2 separate regions of the Homo sapiens genome follow, and region 1 is linked to region 2. Evidence: promoter capture Hi-C in human tissues and cell types (Jung and others, 2019). All regions are on one chromosome and are shown on one strand. The core of a region is centred on a gene start or on the middle of the fragment in contact, and the rest is flanking DNA. Distances in the headings are between cores, read along the strand shown.

Evidence for each region. Contacts are between HindIII fragments. The study calls those that stand out against the background at their distance.
Region 1: a contact is called between a fragment that was not itself captured here and the fragment with the promoter of FAM180A in region 2, in 4 of the 25 tissues and cell types used here (bladder, mesenchymal stem cells, spleen and 1 more).

What each region holds. Positions count from the first base shown.
Region 1 is chr7:135,941,265-135,948,273 of GRCh38, forward strand. All of the region lies in intron 3 of MTPN (myotrophin), which reads right to left. Among named protein-coding and RNA genes, the nearest start is that of MTPN, 33 kb to the right of the region's middle. The HindIII fragment of the contact is 4,210 bases long and covers 2,173-6,382 here.
Region 2 is chr7:135,744,683-135,751,618 of GRCh38, forward strand. FAM180A (family with sequence similarity 180 member A) reads right to left here and starts at 4,131. Exons shown (of 4, transcript NM_205855.4): 1 at 3,823-4,131. The coding sequence starts at 3,898. RefSeq lists an enhancer at 569-1,768. The HindIII fragment of the contact is 9,123 bases long and covers 1-6,674 here.

The DNA of each region.
Region 1 (7,009 bases), core at 3,028-5,527, 200 kb after region 2:
ACTGAGTTCAGATGTCAAGTGATTTACTAGCTATGAAGTTACAGAACCAGGCCTTAAATCTAGGTTTACTAACTTCATTGCCAAGCTCCTCTATCTGCACCACTCTGCTTCTCCAACAATGGGGAATGTCATATGAACCAAAGCATTTGTTGAGAACTTTAATTTACCAAGTGGGTTAAGTGTTGATGCTGTTGTCTCATCTCTTTAACTTTTCCAAAAATTCAATTCTTAAAATGTCAATTAAAATCTAAAGAGGCAGGTACTTCAAGTTTTCCAAGCAGCTGCTCAAACTTACTCAAATGACAAAAACTAACAAATGAGACTCACACACATGTGAGCAATGAGACATTTTATGTTTCGTTTTATTCCTTATTTGAACACAGTTAACTATAGTTCATTTTCAGTTGCATATATAATGGTCTTGGATTTGTTCTTATGGTACCCCTAGTAAAAATATGATTTTAATATCACTATAGCAATCATATTTAACATGAATAGAAAGATCATTTCAAGGTTTCAGAGAAAAATTCATCATGGAAATAGGATGGGCTAAAGCACAAACGAGCCTTCAAATTACTCCTCTTCAAGGACAGTCACATATTGAGCTGTTATATTACTTTTTTTTTTTTTTTTTTGAGACGGGAGTTTCATTTTTGTTGCCCAGGCTGGAGTGCAATGGCATGATCTCAGCTCACTACAAACTCCACCTCCCGGGTTCAAGCTATTCTCCTGCCTCAGCCTCCTGAGTAGCTGAGATAACAGGCACCTGCCACCACGCCCGGCTAATTTTTTTTTTGCATTTTTAGTAGAGATGGGGTTTAACCATGTTGGCCAGGCTGGTCTCGAACTCCTGACCTCAGGTGATCCGCCCGCCTCGGCCTCCCAAAGTGCTGGGATTACAGGCGTGAGCTACTGTGCCCGGCCGCTGTTATATTACTTAAAAGGTGGTACATCCTAAGTTTCAGACAAAAAAGTATGTCCACACTTGAAAGAAAGTTCTTCTCATAAAGTTAATTTTCTTCAGGGAACCCTCATTCCTACAGCAAGTCTTTCCTTTCCTGAGAAGCACATCAATCCTAAAGTCTTTGTACTTGCTGAGAACTCATGATGTGCTCGGCATTTCAGCGAGTGGCTTATACACATTATCTCACTTGAGTACTTGGCTATACTGAGAGGCAGTATAATGTAATGGTTACAGACACAGGCTCTAGAGCAAAATTGACTGGATTTGAATTCCAATTCCCCTTCTTGCTAGTTGTGTGATGCTGGGCAAATTTCCTAAATCATTTTGTGCCTCTGTTTCCCCAGTGGTAAAATGGATTAAAAAAATATTTTATAAGACTACTACGGTGATTAAATAAGTTAATATACACAAAGCCCTCAAAACTGTACTTGTACATAGGAAATGTCATTTAACTGTGAGCTATTTTATCCTCATATCAACTCTATGTGATAAATACAGGCCTATGTTACAGAAGAGAAAGCTTAGGCTGAGATATTAAGAAACTTGCTCAAACCCAGAGTTATTAAGCAGAACTGAGAACTAAACTTGTGTGTGTGTAGGTGTGTGGCACCCCAGCACATAGCACAGATCACTAACAGAAGCTAAAATGATGTGCTGTAGTCTAAAAGAGCTAAACAGTTAACGACAATGAACTTACACCGTGGGCATACTTGTGTATGAGATTTGTGAAACCTATCAAAACAGTCTAACAATTGGTTCTTCAGTTATTTATGGGGTAAATCTTGTAGATATATCACTCTGGTAGGCCCTTTATGACACAGTTTCTTAAAAATAAGACAATTCAGTAAGGCACTGCTGAGCTCTTTGAGGAAGACCAGTCCTAAAACTTTTTTGAAACCCAACTTGACCATGTTATATGGAACAGAATTTTGGGGTTCCAAATAATCCTAAAATGTGAGTGGGGGAATATCTGAAGCTATTCAGATTTTATTGGAGGTATGGTAGTAATTCAAGTAACAAATAGTAATTCAAGTAAATATTTGTTCTGCCTGCAGGCACGCCAATTTGCTTATGCTAAAAAGGGCTAACTTTCAGCCCTTATATCTTACACATTTGATTCCCAATTCAAGTAGCAATTCTGCACCACAGACACTTCCCTGAGGAGTCAACAATGCTGATACTTGAGAGGGATATTCAAGTTTTACTAACTGGCTACGTGATTAAAAAGAAAAAGCACAGAAAATACATTTATCAAAAACATGAATGTTACCAGACAAGATGGTTTTTTCTATTTCCTCAGCAGACTGAATTTCAGTATTTTTAAATCTCTATAGCAATTATACATAAAACATAAAACATTTTGACTTCCTTTAAATAAGAATGCAGTTGAGTATACCTTTGTTCTCAAGCCAGGAATAGTTAACTTACAGAGTGGTCTGAAACAGCTGAGTCACTAAAATTAGCGCTGCATAACCATCAGTGGTATATTATATATAGTTGTTGTTGTAAGATTAGAGTTGGCTTCCTGAGGAGATAAATTCTTTTGACACAGAAGCAGAGAAAAAAAGGAAAACAAAAAAGCAGTTCTTTTGGGCTTTCTCCTCTCAGGTATAGCTCAGTGTGCTAAATATCACTAGTAACAAAATGATAGCTTATAATAACAAATTAAGTATGCTGTCAGATTATTTTTGTAATCTAAGAATAAAACTGCAATGTTTTGAAACTTTCATTGAATTCTCAACTCATGGGATTCTGATTCTCTCATGCTGGGGTATAACTTTTTCTATTTATTTATAAGAATTCGTATTTCTATAGGCGATTGAGAGGTCATTTTTAATAGCAGTATATACCATGTAAGGCATGGAGTGTAAATACACCAGCATAAATGACTGAAAGCTTATCTGTCTAAATTCTAAATTATAGCAAATATAACATCTTTAAATGATTGATAAAAGAAGTAAATAATTAGGATATTTCCCCACAATACCCCATAGTTGATTATTTAGAAATAGTATTCCTTAGGATTAGGAATACTGAACTTCTTAAAGTTCTTTATTAAAATTATAAGGAATTATGTACATTATATGGAATTTTAATGAGTATTATAGAAAATATAATCTTCAATATTATATGTATTATGTTAATATTAGAAATGTGCAACATGAGGCCAGGCGTGGTGGCTCGCGCCTGTAATCCCAGCACTTTGGGAGGCCGAGGCAGGCGGATCACCTGAGGTCAGGAGTTTGAGACCAGCCTGGTCAACATGGCAAAACCCCCGTCTCTACTAAAAATATAAAAATTAGCTGAGTGTGGTAATCCCAGCTACTTGGGAGGCTGAGGCAGGAGAAGTGCCTGAACCTGTGAGCCGAGATCACGCCATTGCACTCCAGCCTGGGGGACAGAGGGAGACTCTGTCTCAAAAAAATAAATAAATAAAATAAAATGAAAATAAATGTGCCACATGATAGTGTATTAATACTACAGGCAAACTACTATTATTTCTCTTACAGAATTGTCAAAACTATATTAAGATGTCCAATTATATGTAACTGTGAAAAATATAGTAGTCTCCTTTTATCTGTAGGAGACATATTTCAAGACCTCCAATGGATGCCTTGAAACCACAGACAGTAATGAACCCTAATATATACAGCCACATGTCACTTAACAAGGGAATTTCATCATTGTGTGAACATCATAGAGTGTCCTTACATAAACCTAGATGGTATGGCCTACTACACACGTAGGATATATGTTATAGCCTATTGCTCCTAGGCTACAAACCTATATCCAGTATGTTACTGTACTGAATATTATAGGCAGCTGTAACACGATGGTAAGTATTTGTGTATCTAAACATAGAAAAGGTATGGTAAAAATACAGTATAAAAGATAAAAATGGTACACCTGTATAGGGCACTCATCATCAATGAAGCCTGCAGGACTGGAGGTTGTTCTGAGTGAGATGAGTGGTGAGTGAAGGTGAAGGCCTAGGACATTACTACACACTACTATAGACTTTACAAACACTGTATACTTAGGCTACACTAAATTTATAAGAAAAATTTTCTTTTTTCAGCAATAAATTAACCTTAGCTCACTGTAACTTTTTTACTTTATAAACTTTTAAATGTCTTTAACATTTTGACTGTTTTGTAATAAAGCTTAGCTTAAAACACAAGTACACTGCACAGCTGTAGAAAAATATTTTCTTTTATATTCTTATTCTGTAAGTTTTTATCTAATTAAAAATTTTTTAAAACTTTTTTGTTGAAAACTAACATACACACAAACACGAGCCTAGACCTAGACCTACACAGGGTCAGGATCATCAATATCACTTTTTCCACCTCCATATCTTGTCCCATTGGAAGATTTTCAGGGGCAAGAGAATACATGGAGCTGTCAACTCGTATGATAAAAATGCCTTTTTCTAGAATACCTCCTGAAGGACATGCCTGAAGTTCTTTTACATTAACTTTTTTTTTAATAAGTAGAAGAAACTCTAGTCTAAAATAAGAATAAAAAGCATAGTATAGTAAATACATAAACATATAACACAGTCATTACCAAGCATTATGTATGACCAGCAGTGAGGTAGGTTTGTTTACACCAGCATCTCCATAAGCACACTGTTGACTGAAACGTCATTATATGGCACATGACTGCACTATGTTTTTTCCTATACACACATACCTATGATAAAGTTTAATTTATAAATTAGGCACAGGAAGAAATAATAATAATAAAATAGAACAACTATAACATGCTAATAAAAGTTAACTGTAATAAAAGTTATGGTAATGTGGTGTCTCTCTCACAAAGTATCTTAGTAATGTACTCACCATGACCATGGGTAACTGCAGAAAAGGGGGACTACTGTAAATGAACTCTGAACTTAGGAAAGTCCATCAGCTAATACTATTCAAGAATATGATTTCATGTTTAGCCCCCTTCTAATGTGTTTGTGCAACCTTGCTATTATTCAAGTGTTTAAGATTTTAATCAGAAAGACCAGTTTAGTAATGAACAGTGAATATCCCAGATAAGTGTCCTATAAACTCTTGTTTGGCTACATTAAAAAATCTTTTCAAAAATAAGTGCTAGCATAGTCTAATAAAAGCATCCAGAAGGATACACACTCACCTTGTAGCACTTAGGGAAGCATCATCTTACCACTGAGGGTTAGGGTTTTAAAACGATGTGCCTTATAAATTCCAAACTATTTATGAGCTAGAGCAGGGGTTGGCAAACATGGCCTGGATATTTGTTTTTGTATATGAAGTTTTACTGGGATGCAGCCATGCCCATCCGTTTATGTATTGTCTATGGCAATGTTACATCAGTGACCATGTAGTTTGCAAAGGCATGCCTTCGCAAAAAGGGTATGCCTAGGAAAAAGTTTGCCAACTTTTGAACTGAAGGACTTTTTAATACCACCTTTTAAATATCCTTTTCATTCCAAAAATTTCCTGGTTAAGATTTTTTAGGGCAAATAAAGGGGAACCTTATTTCACTGAGATAATTATAATTCTAAATGACACATGATTATACAGGCTGCCTATTATTGCTTTGATAAAAACAGGCATTGGGCTTGGCCTCTCCACAGACTGCTGTACTGGTCAGTTGCTACTTTTCTATTATGAGTGTCTGTCTCATACACTCACATCAGCTTCTTCACACTCTCACTCCTCTGCTGCTGCTACCTCTTCAAGGATGCTTCTTGAGCCTGCATTAATTATCTGCCTCCTTTCCCTTGTTTCTTCTTGCTAGTTTTACCATGTTTCTCAGGTACTCTGGATTTGGTGAAAATACCAGAAGCTTTGATCATCTCATATTATTTACCTTATTTGGTTCTAGCTTATTTTTTAAAAACTTCAGTGTTAAATATTTGTTTAGAGTTATTCACATACTAATTCACACTAACTTCTTACTTATCATTCCCCTTCTTGCATCTCAGTCTTTCCTTTTGGGTTTAATTTGCTTCTTCCTGAAGTGCATCCAACTTGTCACTCCATTTGTTGCTTGGGGGTACTAGGCACCTCTGGGCGTGGCCTTGGATCAGCTCTTGCCTTTTGCAACAATACTCTCTTGCTCTTATTTGGGAATTTCTTCTTTGGCCCTACCCTGCTTGTTTTCTGTCTTTCAAGGTTTCCTTATCATTTCTTGTTTGATGGATCCAATTCTTCTGGTCCAAAGCAGATACTGATCAACTCACTTTAAAAACATCTTTTCTGTCACTGGGGGCAAAAAGAGAACACCACAGAATGTGCTCACACCTAAACTTTGAAATGGAAGCCTCTCATCTGTTGATCTCTACATTTTTCTCATTTACCAGCTTGCCAATTAAAAATGAGGCCACAAGTCTTTTTACCTGCAGATATGTACATGTTCCATTTCTCATTAACTGACCTGACAGTACTTCTGAAAGGCAATTTCAAGTAATAGTAAGAACACAGGCTGCTGAATCCTACATCTTGGAACAAATCTTGATTCCATTACATTGTATTTGACTTTCAAGCAGTTAGACCACCCCGAGATAAATGGTTTCCTTATCCATAAAAGAGAGATAATAATACCTAAGTATTTGGGTTTATAATAAATTATAAATGATACAGCATATCATATAAAGTTTGATTTCAAATATTCTAGCAATCATGTTTGTTTTTCTGATTTCTCCCCTATTAGTTGTGATCATACTGAGTTTCTAAATCCCTGTTTATTATTTTGCCTTTTTTCGTATGCTAAGGATAAATCAACTGGATAATGTATTGGAAATGTCAATGAATCTGGAAAGTTCTTAAACCAAGTCTTTTCAAGTGAATTCATAATAATCCATAAGAATTCTACTTTTGATAAAAGGCAGAACAAATTAGACTTAATATAAACACTGATTATAACTTTTAAAAGATGCACTGGAACAACTCTATTTTAGCAACTAAGAATTTTTGAAAGAGTATAATCAATTTTCAAAAAAAATCTGCCTAACAAAACTACAGGGTATCCATTAAAGAAGCTTATGCAATAATAAAATCAAAGTAATTA
Region 2 (6,936 bases), core at 2,881-5,380:
GCGGATGAATGAGGACGGGGCACTCTGCCAGCAGATGGACCTGGGGGATCAAATTCAACTCTGCCCTTGCAGCTGGGGGAGCTGGGTCACTTCACTTCTTGCCTCACTCTCCAATTTTCTAACCTGTAAATGGTTAGGATAGCACCTGCCTCACAGAGTTACTATGGAGAGAGGAGATGGCTCTGTATGGGGCACTTGGGCAGTGAATACTTAAAACAATTTTCTTTTTGGATACAGGGTCTTGCTCCATCATCCAGGCTGGAGTGAAGTGGCGCAATCATAGCTCTCTGCATCGTTGACCTCCTGGGCCTAAGTGATCCTACCACCTTGATCTCCTTGCCTTAAGTGATCCTACCACCTTAACCTTCTGAGTAGCTGGGACTACAGGCATGTGCTGCTACACCCAGCTAATTTTTTTTTTAACTTTCCCCTGAGTCACTGGAATTATAGGCGTGCACCACCGTGCCCGGCAGTCAGTGAGTACTTACTGAGTACTGACCACAGGCCTTTCCCTCATGGAACATTCATGACTGAGGACACACACAACCCTTAAATGGACACCTGAAAATGACATAAGGTCCACCAAAAAATGGAAGGGCTGCTCTATTAAACTACTTAAAAAATAACTTGTATGTATTCAACAAAAGCATAGCTATTCATATCCTTAATAGGTGCATATTTCATTCATATCCTTAATAGGTGCATAATTCTTTCTCAAGTCTGGCTAGTCCTCCCCCTTCCAGTGGTGCCCTGGCAGGACCTGGTATGTGCTGGGACGTGGGCCACCTGTGTGTGTGTGTGTGTGTTTCTGTGTGTGTGTATGTGTGTGTGTGTGTAGATGTGGCTTTCCTGGCTTGGCCACAGGTGAGTCATTTGGTCTTCATCAAACTGGTGGGGCTGGAATGGGTGATCCTGGATCCTGGCATGGAAAGCTGCCTCCCAGGGTGGAATCCTAGAGAGCGCTTAGGGAAAGGCTGGGAGGATGGTAGGAAAAAGACAGTGCTAACAACAAGGCGCATATTGCCTGTGGGTTTACATCTACATTTACATTTTGGAGCAGGAGGGTGGGAGGATGGACACGGGGTAGTGGTGGGGCTGGGGGCCAAAGGGCAGGGGGTGGAAGAGGAAAAGCTCTGGAAGAGATTGCCCTAAGACTGTTTCCAAAGGGAGTACTTTGAATTGAGGCTGGAGGTAGGGTGGGGGTAAGGATGAAGGTGAAATGAATAATACATTTGGAAAAACTTACTCATTTGGGTGTGACTCCTATTCAGTCTTGAAAAAAAAGATGGCAAGAATTGTGTATTTCTTTTATAATTAGAAAAAAATGTTAAAAATGAAAAAAAAATCAACTACGCGGAAGACATTTGATGATGGTTGGAGGGACTCTGTATCATTTGTTGACTCAGCGCTGACTTGAGCCATTAATCTAGCACGTCACATCCGCTGCCTCATAGTGACCTCGGTTTGGCTGGCTTTGAGTCAGTGGATTGTGAACTCACTGTGGAAAGACCTTCCCCAATGCGGAAGGACATGGCCCGGAGAAGTTGCTCCCAGAATGTTGCTGTAGATTCCCCTGTTAAGAGCCTTAAACTTCCTTTAATGAAAAATTTTTATTTTTCAAAAACTGGTAGGCAATAGCTAATATTTATATTGTGCTTTGTCATTTACAAAGTATTTTCATCTATATTTTTGAATATGACCCTCACAGTAATAGCATGAGGGTTTTATTGATGTGATGGATGTTAATGTCACCCGTTAGTGAACTAAAGCTCAGAGAGGTTAAGAGACTTGTCTGAGATCACATTGCCAAATAGAGATGGAACTTAAACCAGGACCCTTGCAGAGTAGCTCATGATGTGGCTATCGTGTTTACAAACCATATTGCAAGTCAAATAATCCCTTTTGGCTTTGTAATAGCCTGTGCCTTAGGAAGAGTGGGCACTGTTACCCTGTTTAATAAGCAAATCCCCAGTGTGACAAAGAGGGGAGTGACAGAACCCAACTCCAAGATCTCTTTGCTTTTTACTTCCAAGTGCTACCTCAAAGTTTGTGCACACAATGAAAAGGGAGGTGTGAAAACAGGGTGACTACAGTCAATAACAATTTAATTGTACATTTAAAAAGAACTAAAAGAGGGCCAGGCACTATGGCTCATGCCTATAATCCCAGAACTTTGGGAGGCTGAGGTGGGCAGATCACTTGAGGTCAGGAGTTTGAGAGCAGCCTGGCCAACATGGTGAAACCCCATCTCTACTAAAAATACAAAAATTAGCCAGGCGTGGTGGTGCGCACCTGTAACTCCAGCTACTCAGGAGACTGAGGCACGAGAATCGCTTGAACCTGGGAGGCGGAGGTTGCAGTGAACCAAGATTGCACCCCTGCATTCCAGCCTGGGCAACAGAGTGAGACTCCGTCTCAAAAATAAATAAATAAGTAAATAAATAACAAATAAAAGTAACTAAAAGGGTATCACTGGATTGTTTGTAACACAAAGGCTAAATGCTTGAGGGGATGGATACCCCATCTTCCATGATGTGACGTGCCTGTATCAAAACATCTCATAGGCCCCATAAATATGTATACCTACTATGTGCCCACAGAAATTAAAAATTAAAAATTAAAAAAAGAAAAGGGAGGGGTGTACGTGTGTATGTGCATGTGTATGCAAGGTTGTTATGAGAAAAATGAAGAATGCTGTATTATTTGTTTCTGGGCAACGATCACTTCACAGCTCAGCTCAAAAGACTTATATCCCTGTTAGAGATGTAAGTCCCTAATGTCACGTTTAACCATGAGGAAATAAAACCCAGCATAAGTACAGTAGCTTTTGCCTCCCTCCCATTTCAGATCCTTCTCTCGCGCTGCTCTATCCCCACTCCGGCCACTCCTTCCTTCCCTGACACTGTCCTTGAGAAGCAAGCAGGAGGCGCATCCATGCCACCATGCCAGTTGCCTTCCAATTTTGCATCTCTAGAAACACCTACTGGCCTGACTTGAAGGAGCCTGTTCTTCTTGCGGTTCTTTCTAGGAGAGTGAACTCAGTTGACTTTAGGCAGTGGAAAGATTTCCGTTCATATTGGTGAAGAGTGGGCAGTGCCGTGGGTCCCTCCTTTCCTAACAGTGATAAACTCTGGCTCGAGGTGCTCCCAGTGTCTACCAAGCAGAGCCACTCCCAGGGAAATGGAGAAAAGATGCCATCCAGCTAGGAGGAACTACATCCTGAGGGGGAGGAAGTCAGTGATAAGAGAACAGCCTTTGCTGGGGCCCCTTCCTTTGTGAGGAGGTGGCGGAGCTGGTGGGTGCAGTGGAGGTTGAAGGGTTGCTCTCCTCACCTGCCCACCTCTGGCTGCAGAGATGCATCCCCTCCCGGTGAGGAGGCAACGTTCTGCAGAGCTTCTGCTCTGGTTCCCCCAGGGAGCAGGCCTTTGGCATCCCAGTGCCCATCACTCCATCATTTTAGCAGCAGGTCTCAGCACCTGCTCTCCAGACGGTCTGGCCCAACTGCTGCAGGTGGTGGGGGCAGTCGAAGAAATGAGTTCTACTTTCTATGAAGCAGAAATGAGTTCTCTCTGGGATGCCAGAAAGGGGTACTCTCTGGGTTCTCCACCTCAACCTAATTCCCTCAGGAGCTTTGATTTTTTCCAGTGTCATTTCCCCATCACCCTCTAAGAAGGGGGAACACGTCAAGAAGCATCAAGGAATTGACAGAGATTAGACAAAAGGAGAGTGCGGGGCTTCTAATGTCCTTCCCTCCAAATTTTGAATTGCATTGAAGAAAGTATAATGAGCATCAAACAAACAAATGAATAAAAAGCAACTCACCCCTGCTCCACCTGTGGCACATAGAAGCCTCAGCATTGTAATACAACAGCAGAAGCAGCAACATCTTCCAATGCATCTTGTCCTTCAAAAGGTGAAAAATCGACCCTCAAGCCCAGTGGAACCCCAGTAGCTGCAGGTATGCCCGTGCCGTTCTTCCCAGTGAGATGATGGAGTGCTTCCCTCCCTTCCTTTTGCAGACGTGCAGAAATGCCTACTCTGCCTCAGAAGGCTGGAGGCTGAAGGCTGCGTCCTGGGTGGGACAGGAGTCGGTACCTCTCTTCATTTGACGCTCTCTGGGATTGGGGAACTGGCCTTCCACAGAGAGACTCTGTTTTTGAGCACATCTGGAGTGACTCACGGGGCATGTGATCTCCTTGGCAGTGGGGCGGATAAATATAATTTCTGTACTTGAGTTCCATGTGTTGGATGCACCCACTGGAATTTTTCTTTAACAAACAGACCCGCGGAACTTGTTAGAGAGCCCGGCGAAGAGTTGGCTGCTCTCCCCGTCCACACATACGATACCAGAGCCAGGGGCGAGGGCTGGAGGCAGAGTTGGGAGCCTGCCTGGCAGACACCAGGGCTGGTTGAGCCTAAGTTGCCTTCAGGACAGCAAAATCATTGTGGTGCCTGGGCTGAGTGTCACTGTTGCCTGGCCCTGGAGCTAGACTAGGACATTGGCGCCTAGAGCCTGTGTCTGGTCTGCCCAGGTTCTGGGTGGGTGGGGAGTTGGCAGGTTGTGACCGAGCCGAAGTGGAGAGGTGACATGGTGCATCGGTATTGTCTGTGTGAACGTGCGTAGGTAATGATCCAGGAGCCCACGGGGACCCCCAACTCACATTGGTGATGCTCCCATTTCTGGGCTGTGCCTAGACCTGGGGCCAAGCCCCACAACTCACATTGGTGATGCTCCCATTTCTGGGCTGTGCCTAGACCTGGGGCCAAGCCACTTTGATTTTCCCAAGCAAAATGGGAGTGTTTTTCCATAGTCGTTGTAATATACTGCCATAGACACCTTAATTCTTTCCCAATCACTTCCTCAACTTCTCTGAAATGATAGGGAATGCTAAAGCTTGAAGGACACTTAAAGATTATGTCATCCTGTGGGTTTTCCAGTTTGTGGAGGTGGTGCCCAGGGTGAATGGGCTCCCCAAGAGGGCTCCTCAAAGCTCTACTCTACTGCAAAAGCTCCTCTTTTATCTGCTATAAGAAGTTGTTTGGGAGCCGGGCATGGTGGTTCACGCCTGTAATCCCAACACTTTGGGAGGCCGAAGTGGGGGAATTGCTTGAGGCCAGAAGTTCAAGACCAACCTAGAGAAAATAGACCCTGTCTCTACAAAAAATTAAAAAATTAGCTGGGCGTGGTGGCATGTGCCTGTAGTCCTAGTCACTCAGGTGGCTGAGGCAGAAGGATTGTTTAGGCCCAGGAGTTCAAGGCTGCAGTGAGCTATGATCACAACACTCTACTCCAGCCTGGGTGACAGAGTAAGAACTTTCCTCTTAAAAAAATTAAAAAAAAAACAACCAGTTTTTTTGGGGGAAAAAATACTAGACTACAACATTTGAAAACCAGTACGCTCACTAATATTAATAATAGCTATTAGGTGCTTAATTTGCTTCAGACAGCGTGCTAGGTGCCCTCCTTGCATTAACTGATTTAATGCATCCACCGAACTAGGAGGTTAGGGCACTAGCCAGCAGCACTCTCCAACAGAAATGTAACGTGAATCACAAACGTCACTTAACATTTTCTACAACTCATACTAAAAAAAAGTAAAAAGAGGCTGGGTGCAGTGGCTCACGCCTGTAATCCTAGCACTTTGGGAGGCCGAGGCAGGCGGATCACCTGAGGTCAGGAGTTCGTGACCAGCCTGGCCAACATGGCAAAACCTCGTCTCTCCTAAAAATACAAAAATTAGCCGGGCATGGTGGTGCACACCTGTAATCCCAGCTACTCGAGAGGCTGAGGCAGGAGAGTCTCTTGAGCCTGCGAGGTGAAGGTTGTGGTGAGGCGAGATGGTGCCACTGCACTCTAGCCTGGGCAACACGAGTGAAACTCCATCTCAAAAAAATAAAAAATAGAAAAAGTAAAAAGAAACAAGTGCAATGAATAGTAATAATATCTTTCATTTAATTCAATATATCCAAGATATTATCATTTCTACAAGTAAGTGATATAGTATTAGCAAGATATTTTATATATATATATATAATATTTACATGAGGTCTTTGAAATCTAATGTGTATTTCACACTTATAGCACTTCTCAAGTCACACCAGCCCTGTTTCAAGTACCTGATAGCTCCATGCAGCCAGTGGCTCCTGTATCGGGCAGTGCAGAGCTAGAAGGTGAGAGGGCAGGCTCTGGGGCAAGATGCCTGTCTTTGTATCCCAGCTGTGCCACTGACTAGCTGTGTGATATTGGTGGAGTTCCCTCATCTCTCTTGGGCTTGATTTTCTTCATCTATAGAATGGGGACAATAATAATTTCCTCTCATAGGGTTGTTTCAAGGAATCAATGCATTTTTTTTTAAGATAAAACATTTTGCTTTATTTTTCATTTGCCACATGCATATCTTGACTGTTTACACAGTTATCATTCAATGTAGATACACAATTAATTGCTAAGAGAGAAATTAAATGCATTGCTGATGAATTTATTTTATTTACTTCATTCCAATAAGAAAAGCCACCATTCTTGAGGGGCTCACGGTTCTTTTCCATTTTCCTAACCCTTGAGTATACAGGGAGTAATCATACCTACACTGTCTCTGTTTCAAAAGGTGGTCGTAGATCTCAGCCAGGTAAAAATTTGAGATTTGACAATATTCCAAGTGTAAAGGGTTTTGATTTGGAAATAGGTTCTGTATTAAAAATGGCATAAATGATTATTTTTCTTCTTTATGCTGCAGCACTTTAACTTGTAATTTCTTTTTTTTTTAATTATTATACTTTAAGTTTTAGGGTACACGTTCACAATGTGCAGGTTAGTTACATATGTATACATGTGCCATGCTGGTGCGCTGCACCCACTAACTCGTATCAATGCATTAATACGTATAAATGTTGAGAATAATATCCGGTACATAGTAAGCATTGAATATATGTGAGCTC